Regions from separate parts of the Homo sapiens genome. Here all the other regions are linked to region 3. Evidence: promoter capture Hi-C in human tissues and cell types (Jung and others, 2019). All regions are on one chromosome and are shown on one strand. Each heading gives the region's core, a stretch centred on a gene start or on the middle of the fragment in contact. The rest is flanking DNA. Distances are from core to core; before and after follow the strand shown. Region 1 has its middle 53 kb from the start of MIR4418. Region 2 has its middle 73 kb from the start of ZBTB40. Region 3 holds the start of C1QA (complement C1q A chain).

The links. The method cuts DNA at HindIII sites, captures the fragments that hold promoters and counts their contacts. A contact is called where the count stands out against the background at its distance.
Region 1: a fragment that was not itself captured here is called in contact with the fragment with the promoter of C1QA in region 3 in 3 of the 25 tissues and cell types used here (IMR-90 fibroblasts, mesenchymal stem cells and spleen).
Region 2: a contact is called between a fragment that was not itself captured here and the fragment with the promoter of C1QA in region 3, in 3 of the 25 tissues and cell types used here (IMR-90 fibroblasts, aorta and dorsolateral prefrontal cortex).

Annotation. Positions count from the first base shown.
Region 1 is chr1:22,317,895-22,320,594 of GRCh38, forward strand. No RefSeq gene overlaps it. Among named protein-coding and RNA genes, the nearest start is that of MIR4418, 53 kb to the left of the region's middle. The HindIII fragment of the contact is 3,603 bases long and covers 1-2,700 here.
Region 2 is chr1:22,377,691-22,380,390 of GRCh38, forward strand. No RefSeq gene overlaps it. Among named protein-coding and RNA genes, the nearest start is that of ZBTB40, 73 kb to the right of the region's middle. The HindIII fragment of the contact is 5,446 bases long and covers 1-2,700 here.
Region 3 is chr1:22,635,178-22,637,877 of GRCh38, forward strand. C1QA (complement C1q A chain) reads left to right here and starts at 1,451. Exons shown (of 3, transcript NM_015991.4): 1 at 1,451-1,525; 2 at 2,433-2,602. The coding sequence starts at 2,440. The HindIII fragment of the contact is 11,741 bases long and covers 448-2,700 here.

The sequences.
Region 1 (2,700 bases), core at 201-2,700, 320 kb before region 3:
TATAGGCTCAGAGGCATTAGTCTGGCCTCTCTCTAAGGGATGCCGGGATTCCCTGGAGCACCCGGCAGGTGGTCATTCAACTTTTGTTTGGATGACTTCAGAGATGGGTAGCTCATTACCTTCCAAGGAAGCTGGTTCCATCTTGAATGACTACAATGGGTGGTGGGGAACAAGCTTGGGCCCTGAGGCAGAGCCAGGTGTGTGGGGAGACTGGAGGAGCTGATTGATGCATATAAGTCTGCTCCAGTTGTGTGTGAGAGGAGGGAGTCGGTGAGCCTCAGTTTCCCCCTCTGGCTTCCTTTGGATCAGTGTTGACCTAACTGCAGGTCACAAACTATGAATGAGTCATGACATTAATTTAGTGAGTTGTGACCAGCATTTTTAAAAAGGAATAGAACAGAATAAGATAGAAAATATCAGCATGCATTTCAAGAATTTAGAGGTATCTCTTTCTTGAGACTTTTGCTGTTGGCGTGGGGGCCGCATGCTGGTACAGTGGGCACAGAGGTGTCTTATGGGATGGGTGGGGGCAGGGGCCTCCAGCAGCTCTGAGGGTGGCCTGGAGGGGCCTCTTCCTGCCCACCCTGCACACGCATCCGAGTCCAAGCAGGGGCCCCAGGGGCGGTGGGAACAGGGAGACCCTCTCAGCTCTCCCCTGTGCATCTCGTGGGCTTGGAGTAGTCCCATAAATCGTCTGCCCGGAGTCAGGGGCATAGAACTCCCTGATTTATGCCCCGCCAGGTCCGCCCCCTCTGCCTCCCTCTCGGGCTTTGTGGGGCCAAGGCCTGGCAGGCTGCTGGCTCCAGACGGCCCCTGCGGTTGCCGTGGCGACAGGTTCAGGCTGGGCCATTATCCCGGCTCCCTCACCGCTTCCCGCCCTCAGGCAACCCTCCCTCCCTCGCTCGCATCAGGGCTGGCATTTGAACAGCACCGCGGGCTTCTTCTCCATAAGCCTGGCCCCTCCTGCAGGATGCCCCCCAAGTCCAGTGGGACCCATGCATCCCTGTCACAGTGAAGTGCAGACTTGGAACTCACTAAGGCAAGGAAGGGGTGCTGAGCAAGTGCCTGGCCAGCATGCGGATCCCGCTTCTCCACTTCAAGGCTGGCCGTCGCAGTACCAGCCTCATGGGCTCACTGTAAAGAACTCGTGAGGGTCTACAGGGAAAGGGCTGGTCCCTGAGACCCCTGCAAGTCTCCATTGCCTCATCTGTAAAGTGAGTGTAATGACATTCACATTCATTGCTCTCTCCCAGGACCTGCAGCAGTGTCGGGCACACGGTAGGTGCTCAATGGATGTGAGTGGATAAATGAATCCCATAGATCATTGTAAAAGTTCTTAAATGAGAACATAAGCATGGCGAGTTGAAGGTGGCCATCAGTGCTTTGACAAGCTTCTTACTGAGATGGGGGGATTCACTTCCCGTGCCCCTGGGATCTGGACCCACGTTATGTTCGTCTGTAGCCAACAGAATGCAGCAGGAGTGACGCTGCTGCCCTCCAAGGCCAGGGCAGAAGGACCTTGCTGCTTCTGTGTTAGTCTCTAGGAGACGCCAGCCACCATGTAAGAAACGGATAAACCCTCACACCTGTAATCCCAGCACTTTGGGGGCTGAGGCGGGCGGATCACCTGAGGTCGGGAGTTTGAAACCAGCCTGACCAACATGGAGAAACCCCATCTCTACTAAAAATGCAAAATTAGCTAGGCATGGTGGTGCACACCTGTAATCCCAGCTACTCGGGAGGCTGAGGCACTTGAGCCTGGGAGGCAGAGGTTGCGGTGAGCCAAGATCATGCCATTGCACTCCAGCCTGGGCAACAAGAGTGAAACTCTGTCTCAAAAAAAAAAGAAAAAACAAAAGAAACTGATGACCCTGGGAACTCCATGCTGGCGAGGCCACGTGGAGGCCCTGACCTGCAGGAAGAGAGAGAGGGAGGTACCCAGCCAGGCCCCAGCTCTTCCAGGCATTTGGAATCATCCCAGCTGAGGCAGAGATGAGTAGTCTCCACTGAGCCCTGTCCAAATTACCGATGCATGAACACAAAAGTATAACTTATTGTTCTAATCAACTTTGGATTGATTTGTTCTGCAGCATGGATTTGCTAGAACAGAATTAAAACCCTGAGCTCCATGCCTAGCACACAATAAGTGCTCAGTGAAGTAGTAGTGGGTAATAGTAATAGTAGTAGTTGTTGTTGCTGATGCTGCTGGGAAGCAAAATAGCCTAATAATTCAGAATCGAGGCTCTGGAGTCAGGATGCTTGGGTCTGAATCCCAGTCGCTAATTCTGCAATCCTGGACAAGTTACTTTCCCTCTGTAGGCCTCAATTTCTTCATCTGTGTAAAAGTAGTAACGGGATGCGGATGTGGCAGCTCATGCCTGTAATCTCAGCACTTTGGGAGCTGAAGTGGGTGGATCCTCTGAGTTCAGGAGTTTGGGACCAGCCTGGACAAGAAACAGAGACCCCCTCTCCACAAAAAACTAAAGAGTTACCCAGCTGTGATGGTGCATGCCTGCAGTTTCAGCTCCTCGGGAGGATCACTTGAGCCTGGGAGGATGAGGCTGCAGTGAGCCATGATCATGCCACTGCACTCCAGCCTGAGTGACAGAGCAAGACCCTGTCTCCAAAGAAAAAAAGAAAAGAAAAAAGTAATGATAGTTGACTACATTGTAGGGTTATTGAGAAGATCACATGAGACCA
Region 2 (2,700 bases), core at 161-2,660, 260 kb before region 3:
AGTGAAATATGTATGCTAGGAAACAAGCCACTCTTGTCCTCTAGGCCTCAGGTACCAAAGCCTTCTGTTCCAGAAAGGCCTCCTCTATGGCTCCAGGTTTCAGGAGGTCCCTGAGTAGCCTGTGGTATTTTGTTAGGGAGGATTTGGCAGTGTGTCTCAGAGGGCATCCAAATATCTTGGGCAAGTCACTTAACCATTGGAGAGCCTAAGCTTCCTCGTCTATGAAATGGGGATAAGAAGTCTTCTCTTCCAGGGCTATCATGATGGTTAAATGAAGTAATGCACATAAAGCACTTAGCACAGGGCTTGTGCTTGAAAGCCATTTCACAAGCAATAGCACGATTATCGTTCCTGTTATTAGGCTTTCAGGCCCAGCTCATTTCTGCCCCCTCCAGGGAGTTTCCCTTGACCATCTGCACCCCTATCAGCTGCCTTCTTTTGTAGCAGAATTGACCCGTTTGCCAAGCACTTGGACACTGTCTCCTCCAGGAGTCTTGCTCAAACTTTGGGACATCGGAAACCCCAAGGGGAATGTGTTACAAATGCAGACTCCTAGACCCACCTCCTGAGGACCCTTGCCAGAGGCCTGCTGTGGGGCCCAGGAACCTGCATTTTCACCAACTCCCACACCCTGAGATGATTCTGAAGCAAGACCGTACCTGGAGAACACTCATATGTGCATCATCGCATTTTATAGATGGGGAAACTGAGGTTCAGAGGAGAACACAGATTGGCCCAAAGTCACATAGTGATTCACTGGCAGAGTTGGGCTTGCACAAGAATTTGTGCCTTGTGGACCTGGGCTGGTTCCGCCCTGCTGTGGAGGGGCTCCCTCTCTTCAGACTGAAGCTTTCCTACAGCCCCTCAGCATGCCTTTCACCACTGGGTGCTCCAATTCTGGCCTGCCTCTTGCTTCCAGAACATATGTCCACCAGGGCCCTGAACCTAGTTGGTGCTCAACAAATATCTTCCAGATGATGGGCATGACTCAGGCAGGGCCAACATATTTAGCAGATTTTTTGACAGACAGGTTGGGAATGGCATGAATGACCTGGCCATGGGAGTGATGGAATCTCCAAAATGGCACTAGGAAAAAACCGTCATGCCTTGATGGGTCCCAAAATGTATATAGTTTTTCTTGGTTTTTCTTTTCTCTTGACAGAGATGCTGAATAAACCTGCTAGAATGTAAACTCCAGCAAACGGGAGTTGCCTGGACTTTACCCTCCCCCTGCCTGGCATGCTGTAGGTGCTCAATAAGTGTTGCTGAGAGGAAGGATATGAGCTGTGGACTCTGCTTCCCACTCTAAGTAGTTTGTTCTCACTGTAGATGGTCTGATGGTAACAAAAGTGTTATGTCCCCTGGAGGTGTCCCTGCTCCCCTCCCACAACCCCTCCCAACCCCTCCAGCTGTGGAGAAGGCGGAGATGGAGAATCACGAGTTGGTCCCAGTTCCCATTCTTGGGCCATCTTCTGCAGCTCCGTGTATCTATGGGATGGAGTGTGGGTGGGAAGAAGGCTGATGCTGAAATCGCCACTGCACCGCCAGGCCTGCCATCCCCTCTGGCTGCCCGGCCTTCCTCCATTAGCACTTTGGCGCTGCAGCCCTTGGCTGAGCCCAGACTGGATTTGATTGATTCTTTATGGGCTGCAGATTCGATACCCATGCAGAGCACATGTGGAGGATAAGCCAGGGAGGAGGCGGGGGAGAGAGTTGAGGCCAGGGAGAACCTGGGGGGTCAGACCCTAACCTTTGCAAGACATGGGGCTTCCCCAGGCCTGGCCCAGACCAGGACGCCCCTTCCTGCTGCACCCTCATGCCAATGACTCTGGTTTCTAGAATTGCCCTGAAGTTCATTTCCCAGCAATGTCTGATCAAATAGGGATGTCCAAGGGCAGGCTCTTCAGATGGGACAAGCCCGGGCTAAACGTCCTCCCCAAAAAATGCAATGTGAGCATTGTTCATCTGTTATTGATTGGGAGACTGTGAGCTTTGCTTCCAAAATCTCCAATAAAACTGGCTTGGAAGAGAATTTCCTGAATCCCTGGGTAAGTGGATAAAGATGTTCCAGGAGTCTGGGGTGGTGCCGGTGGGGAAGCTCACACACCATGCACAGTTGGTTTTTCCCTTTGTTACTTAATGAAGAACAGAAAACAATCAGCCTCATCTCTCTGCATCCAGAGTCGGCTCCCTTCTTCCTTTGAGTTAATTTCCGGTTGGAGGCTGGTGCCTGCTTAGCCGGAGGGCCCCCGGGAATCTGCTCCTCTTCTCTTTTGGGTTGGGGGCTGGAGGCGGCTCATTCTTCTGGGCATCCCGTGGTAGGGGTCTTGCACCTGCGTGTGGCATTAGGCGGGTAGGGGGTTTTGAGGGAGCACAATAGAGCATTTGGGAGCTGGCTCAGTTGCTGGAGCAGCCTAGGTTACAGAGAGATGCAGCCAGCTCTGAGGTCCTGTCTCAGCCGTGACCAGCCTTGTGACCTTGGGCAAGGGACTTCAATTTCTGGGCCTCAGTTTCTTCATCTGTGAAATGGGCATCATTTCAACCCCTGCTTCAAAGGGTTATGATAAGGACTCGAGGAGGCTATGGATGTAAGGCACTTGTGTGGTGCTGGTGCAGAGCAAGCACTCAATACATGTGGGTTGTTAGTCCTATTCGCTCCTGACATCAGCAGCTGGGACTCCGCTGACTTCATGGTGAGCC
Region 3 (2,700 bases), core at 201-2,700:
AGGCTGTTCATGCCAAGGAGCGTCTGCAGGCCAGTGCCGAGCTGCCCTCAGTTTCCCCTTGGCTTTCCTTCCATGCTAGTCAGTGCCCAAAGTCCAGAGGGGGCCAAGGCAGCAGGGGTCTAGTGTGTCAGCACTGCCCCAAGCATGCCCACACCCAGCCAGGCTGCGACAGCACCCAGGCTCAGCACCAACTTTGCTCTAAGATCAGAGTGGGCGCCAAGAGGAGGGAGAAGCCAGGCAGTGGGAGCAGACACTTCTGAGCCTGAAGGGTGGGGCGGGGGGCCTTCCCGGGCCCCCAAGATTGCAGGGATGCCTGGGTCCACAGCTGCAGTTTAGGCAGCTGCAGCTGCATGGGGGATGGCGGGGGCCCCCACCTGCTCCATGAAGCAGGATCAGCTGTGGTTTGGCAGCTGCAGTGGTTCCCAGGAGGGCGGGGTTCCCACTGTCCCCAGCTCCCACTGGCTACATGGAGCATGCAGCCCTGGCCGTGCCTCCCTGCTGCAGCCAGTGTGATGACAGCAGCCATTCCAGACGGCCCGCCATTGCCATCTCTTTTTTTTTTTTTTTTTTTTGAGATGGGGTCTTGTTCTGTCTCCCAGGCAGGAGTGCAGTGGTAAGATCAAAGCTCACTGCAGCCTCAACCTCCTGGGCTCTAGCAATCCTCCCAGCTCAGCCTCCCAAATAGCTGGGACTACACAGGTGCATGCTACCACACCTGGCTATTTTTTAAATTTTTAGTAGAGATGGAGTTTCACCATGTTGGCCAGGCTGGTCTCGAACTCCTGACCTCAAGTGATCCGCCTGCCTTGACCTCCCAAAATGCTGGGATTACAGGCGTGAGCCAAAGCACCTAGACTTGCTGTTTTTTTAAATGTTGGCAAAAGCTAGTGACTAAGTGTTCACCATGTGCCAAGTGTTTTGTATGTGCAAGTCATTAAAATGTTATAATAATCAGATGATATAGGACCCCGTTCCCAGTGTACAGATAAAACTGAGGGCTCAGGAGGTCAAGTAATTTCCCAAAGACATGCAACTAGGAAGCAGCAAGTCTAGAAACAGATTGCTGTGCTTCCTTCTCACCAATGCACTGTTCTTTCTTCTTTGTATTTTCCAAGCTTTTGGCAATGAATTGCATGTCACTTTCATAATCATGAAAAGTCCTACAAGGGACAGATTTTTTTAAAGATTCCTTCCGCTCTGGTGTTCTGTGCTTCGCTGGTTCTCAGAACCTCACCCTGCACGGCCTCCACCCCACATCCTCACAGGCACTGGCCTCACTGCCCCCACTCCCACACCAGCTGTTGCTGGGGCAGGACGCCCAATGTCCCAGTCTTGCTGAAGTCTGCTTGAAATGTCCCTGGTGAGCTTCTGGCCACTGGGGAAGTTCAGGGGGCAGGTCTGAAGAAGGGGAAGTAGGAAGGGATGTGAAACTTGGCCACAGCCTGGAGCCACTCCTGCTGGGCAGCCCACAGGGTCCCTGGGCGGAGGGCAGGAGCATCCAGTTGGAGTTGACAACAGGAGGCAGGTGAGGCCAGAGTCCCAGAGGGAGGGGGCTGCAGAGTTCTGGGACCCAGGGGAGCTGGCCCAGGAGGCTGGGCAGCTGAGGCAGGGAGGGAGGGAAATAACTGTGCCTGATTCTAGGACAGGGATGGGGGTGCAGCACTGATCCAGGACCCAGAATGGGTGAGTGGAGGGACCTTAACTCCTTGAGCCAGGGCTTGGGGGAGGGTGAGAGGCGATGAGTTAGACCTAACAACTGAAGGGTAAGACCAGGGTTCCTGGGTCCTGGCCCCATAACACATAAGAAACCAGGAAAAGCCTGGGGTGCTAGAGCTGGCAGTGGGACCCAGCAGAGGGGACTGTAGGGGCAGCCAGTCACCCATGCTCAGGTGGATGCTGAAAGGCGCTGAGCATGCAGAAGAGTGAGCAGGTGTCGCTTTGGGCGTTTGTGAATTCCTGTGTGTATGCAGAGCTCCACCATCTGGGTGAGCCAGTGTTAATTAAATAAGGAGCAGGCGCTCAATACATATTTGTTCAATGAAATCGATTACCTGTGGGAGTGTATGAATGTGTGTGTCCGTGCAAGTGAGGGACAGGGTCTATTTGGGTATCAGTTGTGTGTCTAGGGGGGTATAGTGGATTTCTGAGTTTGCCTACTGTGTTTTGTAGGTGCGTGGATGAGAGCTGTGTTTGTGTGAGTGTGTGAAGATGTGGGTGTGCTCTGTTGCATGTGTGGATGTGTGTGAGTTTGTGGTTCTGTGTATATGCGTGGGGTCCTGGGGCTGGATTGAGAGTGGACATTGAGAGCCCCAGAGGGTGCATGTGCACTTGGGGAGGACTGTGCATATATCATTGTGTGCATGGGACTCAAGGGTGGGAGCTGGGTGTGAGTGTGATGTCCAACCTGCCCAGGCCCTCCCGTGTCTCCACAGAGGCATCATGGAGGGTCCCCGGGGATGGCTGGTGCTCTGTGTGCTGGCCATATCGCTGGCCTCTATGGTGACCGAGGACTTGTGCCGAGCACCAGACGGGAAGAAAGGGGAGGCAGGAAGACCTGGCAGACGGGGGCGGCCAGGCCTCAAGGGGGAGCAAGGGGAGCCGGGTAAGCACCCTTCCTCGGGACCCAGCCCCTTGGACCTTGGCCTGACTTGGCCTCCAGGGTGAAGGCTTGGGGTGGCACTGAGAATCAGGAGTCCGTCT